2 separate regions of the Homo sapiens genome follow, and region 2 is linked to region 1. Evidence: promoter capture Hi-C in 16 types of primary human blood cells and fetal thymus (Javierre and others, 2016). All regions are on one chromosome and are shown on one strand. The core of a region is centred on a gene start or on the middle of the fragment in contact, and the rest is flanking DNA. Distances in the headings are between cores, read along the strand shown.

Region 1 (7,051 bases), core at 2,684-5,183:
CTGCCTTCCTGGACTTCCAATCACCACAGGTCCATCGCCACTCCCCTACTGCACTCCAGCACTCTGCTTTTGACACTTCAGTAAAATCTTAGCTGTTTATTTGTTGCCTTGGTCCTTTATTTTCAGGGGGATGAATGCCAGGCATATCTCTAAGTCAGTCATCTTGCTTTTCTACATCTCTTTATTTACAGGAGAGAAGGTTGTTACCATCCTTGGTGATGAAGGAAACAGATAGCTCATGTTGACAGGCATCAGTCCTCAATAAGTGCAGGTAAGAGGGATCATAGGCAGCAACAGAATTCTGAGGTATCTCTGTGTGAGCAAAGAGCTTTTCCAGTAAATTGCACCATGACAGTCTGCTAAAGGCATAATTTATATGATCACCAAATGGCTTCTCAATTAGTCTTTCTGTTAACATTCCTACATTATCTCCATACCAGCTTGTTTCTTAGGTAATGCTCAGCCAAACAGAAATCAGATTTTGGAACCAAATCAGATTTTCTTCTATAGCCCCAGAAAAGACTCTGCTTAGAATAAGCAAGGAGAAAGAAAAAAAAATGGGAAGAGAAAGAGATATGTAGAGGAAGAAAAGAGAAAGAAAAATTGGAAAAAAAAAAAATCTAAAACAAGCACTAGATTCAAGTTTGGCATCTATCGCAGGACATACTCAACATTAAGAGGGGGCAGAAAACAAATGGGGAGGGGGACAGCTTTCCAACTCCCCAAATCAGGTTGTCACCATGTGACTTCATTATCTCGGTTGAAATATTGTGAACTCATCCCACCATTTGGTGTGAATAACTGAGTTATCATCAAGATAACCTTGAAATGCATATCACGTGTACATTTCAGATAAGGTTTGTTTAATCAGCACAGGAATAATAAACACTTTGCTAGGTGCTCAGTATTACCTCCATCTTGAACTCTTACAAACTTGAACCCAACTTAACATGAAGCAGGGATCAAAACGTCCATCAGGCCATTCCAGGTTGAAAATCCTATGATGCCAGAGGCATTCGGGGAAATTCTAAGTAAAGCATAGAAGAATCTCAGGGCTATGTTAAGGTCACTAACTGGCCTCACTGCTTCACCTAGACAGCCCTGTTTTTCAACAAACTACAACTGCCGGGTTTGATGGTGATTATGGGGATTTTGTACATAGCTAAAGTTATACTATGAAGTATTTTTGAAGTATTTTGAGAATTACTTGTAAATTATCGTTTGCATGCTTAACTGATAGCCTTCATTATGAGAAAGACCATATTTAATAAAAATTGTATGTAATTTAAAAATTAATTCAGACTTGAATAAAGTCTGTTGATTGATTAATATTATTGTATCAATATAAACTTTCTAATTTTGATAACTATACTCTCATTGTATAAGATATTAATATTTGGGGAAGTTGGGTGAAAGGTATATGGGAATTCCTTGACTATTTTTTTGTAAATTTTTTTTTTTTTGAGACGGAGTCTCGCTCTGTCACCCAAGCTGGAGTGCAGTGGCACCATCTCGGCTCACTGCAAGCTCCGCCTCCCGGGTTCACACCATTCTCCTGCCTCAGCCTCCCGAGTAGCTGGGACTGCAGGCGCCCGACACCACCATGCCCGGCTAATTTTTTTGTATTTTTAGTAGAGACGGGGTTTCACCGCGTTAGCCATGATGGTCTCGATCTCCTGACCTCGTGATTGCCCGCCTCGGCCTCCGAAAGTGCTGGGATTACAGGCGTGAACCACTGCGCCCGGCCTGTAAATTATTTATAAGCTGGAATTACTTGAAAGTGAAACATTAAAAGGAAGTTTTGAAATATTTAAAAAGGTAATTAACAGGGCTTGGCAATTTCTCCATTATTTGCACTCAGAAAAGGGGCTCTTTCAGCCTCTCTCTTTTGCTGACAAGATGATGAAATCCACGTAAGTCAGATGAAAGAATGAATGCAAAAGTCCTTGCTGAAGTAAACTGCTAAGCAAATGCTAATAGTGATCATTATAGTCCCATATGGAGCTGCTTCTCTATAAATAAAGGGAGGAACAAGCCATTGTACCAAATACCTTATCAGATACTCTCCAAGCAGTTTACAAAATGCTTAGAAATTGCTGCCCTAAAAGTAGGACTGGGGAGCTATTGAAAGGTTTTCAGCAAGGCAGGCAGGCATATAACAACAGCAATCCTTCAAGATGACTCCTCAAGCTTTTAATACATAGGATGGAGGAAGTGGAGGAGATTGGACTCAACAAATCCCACTAGGAGTTACTTTAATAATTGAGGAGTGGATGGTCCTCACTGAGTGGGCCTGGAAAGGAATAAACCAAGCTGAGAGGCATGGTGAAGAGCTCATCGTCTGGGCGGGACTACCTTGCAGGTGGGAGAGGAAGGAGACAAATGAGTCTGTGGTTACTTGAAGACATTTCACCAAGATGACTGGGGCAAATGCTTCTCAGTGTCACTGAGAGATGGAAAATGAAAAACAGGAAAGACAATTCATAGAGGTTGGGCTGCAAACTCAAGTGGCAGCAGAGGCCAGGCAGGTGCAAAAGGGGGAAGACAGGCCGTGGGGTCTGCAAAACTGCAAGAGTCGTCTCTCTAAAGAGGGTGCCTCCAAGGGGCCTGCCACAACTCAGCATCAGCCGTCCTTGCCATATGGGAATGCACTTGTGGTGTAACTAGATCTTCCATTTTTTCAAGAGAAGCCAGAAATTCAGATTTTATGTGAAATCTCTTAACTTTTTAATGCTAGCTACTAATTTTAAAACGTGTTAAAGCATGGTGTCTGCCAGCCAAGTACATCTATGGGCCAGATCTGGCAGGGTGGCTATCAAGTTGTGACCTCTGACATAGAGAAAATGTCAAGGGTCAAAGTTCATAGACTGTTAAGGTTACATAGAGAGACAGTGACTGTAAAGGGATTCAGTACCTAAAATGCTACGGATGCAGCTTTGCCAGCAATCTGAGCTGTATGACATATGCCCCTATCCTTCAAGCCTGTATATGGATTTGAATTTATACAGGAAGTTTCATCTAATCCTCAAATGGTTAAATCACAAGAATTTGAGTGCTTTCTGTGTGCTGAGTACACAGAAGTTAAAGAATTTAAAATCTAACTGGAGAAGAAAAAAACATGCCCTCTTGAAACAACTTGAAACAAATTATGAAAGAACCTGGGAGACTGCTTTCTTCACATTTCATGTGTCAGAGGCATCTTAAATCCTGGTTTGTCCCCCCCAAATCACTTCCATTTAGAAAACTTTGCAGTAGTGTGTGTGTGTGTCTTGAATATGTAACCAGAAATCTGATTTCCTGGGCAGTGGTTACAAAGCTGCAGCCTCTCTTTGCCCAGGGGTATCTTTACCCCAGAGTGGGAGGGGAGTGAGCTGAGGTGGGGGTGCACGAACGCTGCAGAGGAGGTTGGGATGGGAGTGGCCGGCGTGAAGCCACTGCCTGTCAGGTTTCTCCGCTGGAGTCCCCTGTTTGTCTCTGTCATTACTCTTTAAGTATTTGCGTAGCAGACAGGCGGGCACCGAAATAGAAAGTGTCAAAGATACGATGACAATGAGGATAAAACCAGGGCAGAGGGTTCTGAAAGTCCCAACCAGCACGGTCCCCGCAGAATGCCAGCGCACCTCCTCCCGCCACTTCAAAGAGCCGGCTCGGCGGGGCAGGAAGCGGCGGCTGCGGCTGCGGGTCCTGCGAGAAGAGCGCGATTTCCTCCGGGGCTGCCCAGTTATCTCTGGAGTCGCAGAACTGCTCTCGGGAGAACGCGTTCTCTACCCCAACCCCGTGCTCCTCAACCCACCCACCTACTTCCTCTAGCTCCACACACTCACAAGCACCGAGCTGCCAAAAATTTCCACCCACCGCCCCCCTCCCTAGCTAACTTCCTTCCAGCATTTCCTGAGCTGGATGATCCTAGGATTTGTAAGACAGGAAAAAAAGGAAGGCGTGAGGGCGGGCAGCAGCGACAGGATGCTTGTTTTTCGCTCTACCAAAGTCGTCTGAAGGCGAGACAGCGGGCCCAGGGCGCAGGACCCACCGCAGCCCCCTGGGCAGTCTCCTCGCCCCGCGTCCGCGTCGTCTCCGGGGCACTTAGTAAGGGGTGGGGAGAGCTTGCCCTCCCTCTTAAGCTGAGGAGAAACACCCGAAGACACCGCAGGAGCCTGTGAAAGTCCCTAGGACTCCAAGTGAGGAAGTGACACTCCCAGGCGAGCCGGCCCGCGGCTGCCAGTCTGCACGGCCTCGGCACGGCGGCCCCGGAGCGGCGCGGGGTGGATCTCAGGCTCTGCCGGCCCGCGGCCCGCGGGGTCCATGCGCAGGGCCCCCAGCCCAAGTTCTTCCATCTTCCGATGCGGCCCCCCAGAGCCGCGGGGCAGCCGGTGATCTAGCCCGGGAGCCCATCTTACAGCGGTGCCAAGCAGAGGGGCGGCAGAGACGGAGGGGCAGCCTCTTTGGGACTAACTCATGAAGAACAAGGGTGCTAAGCAGAAGCTGAAACGAAAGGGAGCCGCCAGCGCGTTTGGCTGTGACCTGACGGAGTATCTGGAAAGCTCGGGACAGGATGGTAATGTGCCTTGGCCTTTCTCCCCCGCCCCCACCTTCTTTTTGTTTGAGGGAGAGACGGACTCTCTCGAGTTGTGATAGAGTCGGTTCACAAGTTAATGTATTCCAGGCCTGTGCGCTCATTGCACTTTTTTTTCTTTTTTTTTTTTAAAGAACATAAACGATTCTTAAGGTGCACAGCGCTGCTGTCCCGACGCGCAGAGGCTGCTGTGTCAGTCCTTCCGTTTGCCTCACACAAGCTGTTAATGGGTGGTACTGCCGCAAGTTTACCGGGCCACCTCAGGGGATGGGGGTGGAAGCTGCAGAGGTCCCAATCCTAAACTTGGCACGTTGGAAGGGAGGGAGGAGGGGTGGACATGTGGGATGGTGATCAGTGGTCTTGCCTGGGTACAAAATCATGACCGCCTTAGCTGTCCCTCCTGGGCTCTCCAATTTCGTCTGCTCACATCTTTTTTTATTAATGTGTTAGAAGGCAGTTGCGGGTGGGGGGTGGGGGAGGATCCTGGCTGGGGGAGTGGTTGCACAAACATTTCTGAATTTCTGAGCTGATGCCAAATATATAGTACCTCCACCCCCTTTCCACAACCCCCTCCCCGCCCTGCAAGACCTTTTCCCTCCTCTTGGCTTTCAGATTAACATTTGGTGTGTCAGACAAGAAGAGTGTTGTAAAAAGGTCAGAGGGCCTCCATTTTTAAATAGTTTAGGGTAAGTAGAGAAAAGGAAAACTTCTCTGTTTTCAAGGTCAGATGGGGGTAGGGGGGAGTTGGGGATGGGGGAATCCAGCGGAGACAATTTAAACATTTGTTGGGGAAGGGGGAAAGAAAACACCATCTAGATTACAATAACAGCGTTTGAGCTTAGAAGTGTTTAATCATAGGAAAGTTGGAAAATTGAGCATTAAATGACTCCTTTTGTAAGGTTGACTGGTTTTGCACTTACCCTTGACAAAAAGGCCTTGTCTTCAGAAGCTTCAGCGAGAGGAAAATAGCCTACTATATAGGCCATGTGTTTATACATAGATAGATACAACAAAGGGGAAAACTAAGGGCTGTGTAACCGTGCGGAATAATTCTGCCTCCAGGAAAATAATCTCAAAACCTATTTGATTAGTCCATATCGAATATGCATTTCAAAAACAGTGCAATGCTTTTGTTTCACTTCTGTGTTTTGGGAGACTCAGCACCACCTAGTAATTTGCAGTGGTGTGATATTCCTGTGGTATTCTAGAGTTCAGTCTGCTGTGTCATTAGGACAAATAGCTTAGGATTTTAGAGCTTGGAGAACCACAGGTTTCAAAACTGACTCTTTTGAAATTGATGCATAACTTAACACTTCATTGAATCCTCACCAACCATCTGGAGAGGTAGATTTGAGATAAAAATCACTTGGTTTGAGTTTTTTTGAGTGTGAGAAAACTCCAAGTATGCCTCTTAACCACTATCGTCAGAAGTTTACAATGAAAGGTTCCTCTTCACCTATTTTTGCAGGGGCCTTCAAGTTAACCTCCAGGTACACTAGGAATGCTCCTGGGATGCCACCTTTCACCATGCGGGTGTTATTCTGGCCCCTCCCTCAAATCTGTGAGAGTTGCATAGGGGTGCTTGCCAGCCCTGTTCGTTCTTACAAACTAATAGATTATAGGATGAGCCAGAACCCCAGGGTTCTATGAAGATATGTCAAAGGCAGCTTTAGGCAGCTGTTCTTTCACCTGCTTTATATTTTGGGCTTCTGCATATGTTTCATTTAGACAAAAAAAAACAGAGACTACTGCTTAAAAGAATGGCAAACCAGTACCCCGGGTTCCCCACCCTGGGGAGGGGGAAAAGAAGCCCAGAGGGGTAAATTGGCCTGCCTGAGGTTGTACAGCTAATCATGAAGGATCGGAGGGCCCTCCCTGGCCTGTTAGGTTCCTCTGCCCTCCCTGGCTTCTGTGTCTAAGCCAACATTCTCTTCTAATGATATTTTCCCCCTAAATTGAAAGCAGACAGCCCTGCTACAGGATCAGCAAACTTTGAAGACTGAACATACCTGATGAGAGTTCAGCTTTGAAAGGAAACGCAACTGACCCACTTAATGATCCACACACTGTTATTGTGCTACACGGAAATTAGACATGCATAATATACTGCTTATGGAAATAAGAGTAATTAGAATTTATTTTTTCCCTCAGCTAAAACTAGTTGGATGGTTTTTTTCTGTGTATTTGTGATAGTGTAGCATCAATGAACAAAGTCAGTGCTAATGGTTTTCTCTAAAGTAATGTTGCTTCTTTGTGGACTCTCCCAAACATGTATTGATTCATAGACAAGGCCTGGACTCTGCTTCTGGGAGGAAAAGCTGAGCTGGGAACTGGCCCTCTGCCCACCACCTTGGAAGATCAGCCCAGAATGCTGAGGGTGACAAGTCAGTGTGGTAACTGGGAGCCAGGGGGCTGGAGAAGGGCTCCCTGGACTGACATCATGGTTACTGAACTTTGAAGGTCAAAGGTGGTGCAGTA
Region 2 (6,588 bases), core at 476-2,975, 390 kb after region 1:
AACCGTAATCCCCAGTGTGATGATATTTGAAGATGGAGCCTTTGGGAGACAAGTAGGTTTAGATGATGTCATGAAGATGGAGCCCCCATGATGGTATTAGTACCCTTATAACAAGAGGAAGAGACCAGAGTCCTTTTGTTGTACCCATGTGTGGATACAACAAGAAGGCAGCACTCTGCAAGTCAGAAGTAAAGCCAGGATCCTTGCCAGGTACTGAATTGACCGGCACCTTGATCTAGGACTTCCCAGCTTCCAGAACTGTGAAAAATAAATATCTGTTGCTTAAGCCACCCAGTCTATGGTATTTTGTTATTGCAACCCAAGGAGACTAATACAGCTGTATAACAATATTACCACATACCTGGTGGTAATACATATTTATTATCTCACAGTTTCTGTAGTCAAGGGCATTACTTAAGTGACTTCTTTGATTAGGGTCTTACAAGACTTGAATCAAGCTTTCAGCTGAGACTGTGGTCTCATCTGTGGTTCTACTGGGGAAGAATATGCTTCCAATCTTATGTTGTTGACAGAATTCAGTTTCTTGCTATTGTAGGACTAAAGGCTTTGGTTTCTTGCTGGCTATCAGTTGGAGGCTACCCTCAGCTCCTAGAGGCCTCCTGTAGTTCCTTGCCAAATAGGGTTCCCAACATGGTCACTTACTTCCTCAAAGCCAGCAAGGGATAGAGAGCCACCCAGAAATATGGGCATTACAGTCTTATGTAAGAGAACCATGTAATTACATCTATCATATCATATTTGGCATATTCTATTGGCTAAAATACTTGAAAAGAGGGGATCACATGAGAACATGAACACCAGGAGGTCAGGATCCAGGGGCCACCTTAAGAATCTGTCTACCACAGGTCGATTATCTAAAGTGAAAAATTGATTATACAAATGGAGTCATTCCTGTTATACCCAACTAAAATTTAGAGTTAGAGGACCATAGGGGTGAAAAAACACTCAGGTCTCAAAAGCCTGCTCCAGAAACTGTCCCACAAGCCCAATCCAATGAAACAGCTGCTACAATTTTAAGACTAGTTTGACAACAAATGGCTGCCATGACTTCAAAGCTTGTTTTACCTAGTAACTTTTGCCACCCAGCAATCAGAGCTTGCCAGCTCCTGCAAAATGCCACAAGCACCAATAACCTTTCTCTTTTCCCAATGAAACCTCAACCATTTCCTTTTTTTTTTTTGAATATATTGGAGACCACTTCAGTTTGTATGTTTGTCCCAGATTGCAATCCTATTTCTTTGTTTATTTCAAAATAAACTCTTTTTGCTTGGAGATTAGTCTCTATCTGTTATTGACATTACATGGTGTCAGAAGTGAGATGCAAAGCAGATTCACTTGGAAAGATAATGGCCCCTGGAACTATGGTGTGCAGTACTCACTGTCAGACCCCTTGAGCCCCCTACTTCCGCTGGTGATCTTTTTTCACCCCAGTGAGTCTTTCTTGGGTTAAACACCCCTTTTTTTTTTTTTTTTTTTTTTGGATTTGAGTTCTTCAGCTTTATTTGGGATTTCTTTATGAAGGGCCTTTCCTCTCCTATTTATTAGGCCTCTATTTGTAAGGGATTTGAAGAAGGCTTTGTCATTCTTCCCGGTGAGTATGTACTTTACTCTTTGGTTCATTTTGTGTGCTTGATTTTTATTTTGGCTTTTGTGTGTTTGGCTTTGCACTGACTCACTTGGATATGTTTATTTACAAATGAACTCCCCAAATTCAAAGATATACCAAAATAGCCCCCCAACATTGGGGACTCTAGCTTGTTATATGCTTAATTATTATGGTCCATCTTCCTATTCTTTTTTTATCGCAATGGACCAATTACACTAAAGAAAATTTGGAATTACAATGGCCATCTCTTGAACTCCCTAACTTGTTTTCTTAGAACTAAATTAGAAGGCCATGGCTACAAAATTAAATTGCCTGAAAGGAGCATAAACTTTAAGTGGTATCTTGAAGCATCTAAATGTATTCAAGCCTCAAAAATCACCTAACTCCAAAATACCATCACTAAGTTAACTAAGACAGATAAACAACGAAAGGAAGATTTTAAAAGGCCTTAGAAACTCAGAGTTTTTCTGCTCCCCTGGTACCACCACCTCTCTCTCCTCTCTACCCTTCCCTTTCTGAAAACCCCACTCAATCCTGATACTTCCTCCCCTACTACCCTCCCAGCTTCTGATCCCCATCCTCAACCTATAAAAACTTGTCCCTGTAGGGTTAGACCCACTAACAATCCTGAGGTTCCTTAGATTGTCTATGCCCTTGGAATAAGGCTGAAATCCATGTTAAAGCCAAGGAATTTCCTAAAGTTACCCAGGACCCTCTTTGCTTTGCTGATGAATTTAACATTACAATTGAAGCTTACTAGCCCAGCTTCTCTGATCTTAATCAACTTGTCCACATGCTTGTGGGAGAAAGCCAGGCTAATCACTGGATGAAAAAGGTCAGTTGTGGCTGGGTATGGTGGCTCACGCCTGTAATCCCCACAATTTGGGAGGCTGAGGTGGGCAGATTACCTGAGGTCAGGAGATCGAGACCAGCCTGGCCAACAGGGCGAAACTCCGTCTCTACTAAAAATACAAAAATTAGCCAGGCCTGGTGGCACACATCTATAATCTCAGCTACTCAGGAAGCTGAGGGAGAGTCATTTGAACCCAGGAGGCGGAGGTTGCAGTGAGCCGAGGTCACTCCATTGCACTCCAGCCTGGGTGATAAAGTGAGACCCTGCCTTAAAAAAAAAAAAAAAAAAAGGAAAGAAAGAAGAAAAAGGTCAATTGCACACACCCTGTATTAGTCTGTTTTCATGCTGCTGATAAAGACATACCCAAGAAGGGGCAATTTACAAAAGAAAGAGGTTTAATTGGCCTTTGGCCTTACAGTTCCACATGGCTGGGGAAGCCTCACAATCATGGTGGAAGGCAAGGAGGAGCAAGACCCATCTTACATGGATGGCAGCAGGCAAAGAGAATGAGGAAGATGCAAAAGTGGAAACCCCTGATAAAACCATCAGATCTTGTGAGACTTATTCTCTACCACAAGAACAGTATGGGGGAAACCATCCCCGTGATTCAATTGTCTCCCACTGGGTCCCTCCACAACATGTGGGAATTATGGAAGTATAATTCAAGATGAGATTTGGGTGGGGACACAGAGCCAAATTATATCATTTTGCCCCTGGCCCTTGTCAAATCTCATATCCTCACATTTCAAAACCAATCATGCCTTCCCAGGAGTCCCCCAAAGTCTTAACTCATTTCATCTTTAACTCAAAAGGCCATGGTCCAAAGTCTCATCTGAGACAATGCAAGTCCCTTCTGCCTATGAGCCTGTAAAATCAAAAGCAAGTTAGTTATTTCCTAGAAACAATGGGAATACAGACATTGGGTAAATACACCTATTCCAAATAGGAGAAATTGGCCAAAACAAAAGGACTACAGGGCCCATGCAAGTTTGAAATCCAGTGGGGCAGTCAAATCTTAAAGCTCCAGAATGATCTCCTTTGACTCCATGTCTCATATCCAGGTCATGCTGATGCAAGAGGTAGGTTCCCATGGTCTTGGGCAGCTCCACCCCTGTGGCTTTGCAGATTACAACCTCCCTCCCGGCTACTTTCATGGGCTGGTGTTGAGTGTCTGCGGCTTTTCCAGGTGCATGGTGCAAGTTGTCGGTAGATCTACAATTCTAGGATCTGGAGGACAGTGGCCCTCCTCTCACAGCTCCACTAAGCAATGCCCTAAGCAGTGCCCCAGTAGGTGTAGGGGCTCCAACCCCACCTTTCCCTTCTGCATTGCCCTAGCAGAGGTTCTCCATGAGACCCCTGCCCCTGCAGCAAACTTCTGCCTGGGCTTCCAGGCATTTCCATACATATTCTGAAATCTAGGTAAAGGTTCCCAAACCTCAATTCTTGACTTCTGTGCACCCTCAGGCTCAACACCACATGGAAGCTGCCAAGACTTGGGGTTGGCCATCTGAAGCCATGGCCTGAGCTCTATGTTGGCCCTTTCAGCCATGGCTGGAGTGGCTGGGATGCAGGGCACCAAGTCCCTAGGTTGCACACAGCTTGGGGACCCTGGACCCAGCCCATGAAACCACTTTATCCTCCTAGGCCTCCAAGCCTGTGATGAGAGTGGCTGCCATGAAGACCTCTGACATGCCCTGGAGACATTTTCTCCATTGTCTTGGGAATTAACATTTGGCTCCTGGTTACTTAGGCAAATTTCTGTCGTTGGCTTGAATTTCTTTTCAGAAAATGGTATTTTCTTTCCTATTGCATTGTCAGGCTGCAAATTTTTCAAACTTTTATGCTCTGTTTCTCCTTTAAAACTGAATGCCTTTAACAGCACCCAAGTCACATCTTGAATGCTTTGCTGCTTAGAAGTTTCTTCCACCAGACACCCTAAATCATCTCTCTCAAGTTCAAAGTTCCACAAATCTCTAAGGCAGGGGCAAAATGCCACCAGTGTCTTTGCTAAAATATAACAAGAATCACCTTTACTCCAGTTCCCAACAAGTTCCTCACCTCCATCTGAGACCACCTGAATCTGGATCTTATTGTCCATATTGCTATCAGCATTTTGGGAAAAGCCATTCAACAAGTATCCAGGAAGTTCCCAACTTTTCCACATTTTCCTGTCTTCTGAGCCCTCCAAACTGTTCCAATCTCTGCCTGTTACCCAGTTCCAAAGTTGCTTCCACATTTTCAGGTATCTTCTCAGCAGTATCTCACCCTGGTACCAATTTACTATATTAGTCCATTTTCATGCTTCTGATAAAGACATACCCAAGAAGGGACAATTTACAAAAGAAAGAGGTTTAATTGGGCTTACAGTTCCACATGGCTGGGGAAGCCTCACAATCATGGTGGAGGGCAAGGAGGAGCAAGTCCCATCTTACATGGATGGCTGCAGGAAAAGAGAGAATGAGGAAGATGCAAAAGCAGAAACCCCTGATAAAACCATCAGATCTTATGAGACTTATTCACTACCACAAGAACAGTACGGGGGAAACTTCCCCCACGATTTAATTATCTCCCACCAGCTCCCTCCCACAACACATGGGAATTATGGGACTACAATTCAAGATGAGATTTGGGTGGGGACACAGAGCCAAACCATATCACACCCCTAACAGAATTTAGAAAGACCCCTCCTCATCTCCCTATAAACTAGCTTATAATATTGGGAGCAGGAACGGTAACTTGCAAAAAGTTTATATAGGGCCATCCCCAAAGCATTCCGTAAAGCCATTGACTAGAATAAAATTCAAGCATGTACCCAAGAACCAAACGAACCAGTTCATAACTATTATAACAGACTCCAGATTGTATTTAAAGAGAATTCTGGCCTTCCCATGGACATTGACTCTACTAGAGTTGCCTTTAACTTTATGTTTGTTAATGGTCTCTCCTAACAATTTACTCAGTTAGTAAAAAAAGCTTGCAGGGAATGAAAACCCATGCCAATCCTTTACCTTGTTAATTTGGCAAATCAATTAGATAGCACCCTAGAGGATACCAATAAAAAGAAGACTACAAAAATCCCAAACCTCCAATTACAACAAATGAAAGGTCCCAGAGAAAACAATTAGGGCTCTGAATGGCACCACTCCTCTAATTCATGAAACTCACCTCCTGGCATCCGTCATTATTGTAAACAACCTGGCCACAGCAAGAAAAACTGTTATAAATTTAACCAATCTAAATAGTCTTCTTCATTTAGCCCTTTGACTCCTGCCTCCTAATGAAAGGGATCCAAAAATATACAGGGGCTTTTTCCAATTCTTCCCCTCAACCTCCTTGGCAATGAGGTCCTACCTGTTCTCATTGACACAGAAGCAACCCTATCAGTACTCAATCCCACCAACCTAAGCCAGGCCTTGCCTTGGAGTTATAAAATTATTCAAATAGTAGGAGTTTCTAATAAACCACTGATGGCATTTCAAGCTCAGCCCATTGCTTTTTGCCTTGGGTTTTTACAAGATACCTATCCTTTTTTACTAGCAGAATCTGCTCCAGCTAACTTATTGGGATGAGATTTAAAAAAAATATATGTCATGTTGGCATCTCTTTATCCCTAAAGGGGGAAATAATTTTGGAGTCTGATAAGCCCAATAGCCTGTTGAACTCTACCAATAATCTCCCACTCATTTGTTATGTTGTCCCATGTACTAAAGAACTCTCCACTGAGTCTCAGAGTTCCCTATTGGAACAGAAAACTGTCTCTTTATCAGCCACATCATCAACAGATGTTGGTAGAATTCATAATGCACCCTCAATCAAAATCCAAATTGATTCAACCAAGCCTTTGCCTAGTATTAAACAATATTCCTTAACCAAACTGCCTTAGACCCAATATTGAAGAATACAAAACTCAAGGCCTAATAATTCCCTGTATCAGCCCCTAATACTTCCACCCTCCCAGTAAGAAAACCTAATTGTTGAGGATGGAGAGTTGTTCAGGATCTCCATGCCATAAATAATATTGTTATACCCTGTCACCTCATGGTCCAAAATATACATACTTCTGTTCCCAAATCCACATACTGCTGACTTCTATACCTACTGATAGTGA

The links. Contacts are between HindIII fragments. The CHiCAGO score rates a contact against its expected background, and 5 or more counts as called.
Region 2: a fragment that was not itself captured here is called in contact with the fragment with the promoter of ARHGAP31 in region 1 in 12 of 17 cell types (megakaryocytes, naive B cells, M0 macrophages and 9 more); the score reaches 11.5 in megakaryocytes.

What each region holds. Positions count from the first base shown.
Region 1 is chr3:119,290,450-119,297,500 of GRCh38, forward strand. ARHGAP31 (Rho GTPase activating protein 31) reads left to right here and starts at 3,934. Exons shown (of 12, transcript NM_020754.4): 1 at 3,934-4,555. The coding sequence starts at 4,456. It overlaps B4GALT4-AS1 (B4GALT4 antisense RNA 1), which reads left to right. Exons shown (of 4, transcript NR_046574.1): 4 at 192-217. RefSeq lists an enhancer at 3,357-3,406 and a silencer at 4,247-4,366. The HindIII fragment of the contact is 3,332 bases long and covers 2,189-5,520 here.
Region 2 is chr3:119,682,938-119,689,525 of GRCh38, forward strand. No RefSeq gene overlaps it. Among named protein-coding and RNA genes, the nearest start is that of COX17, 8.8 kb to the left of the region's middle. The HindIII fragment of the contact is 1,303 bases long and covers 1,075-2,377 here.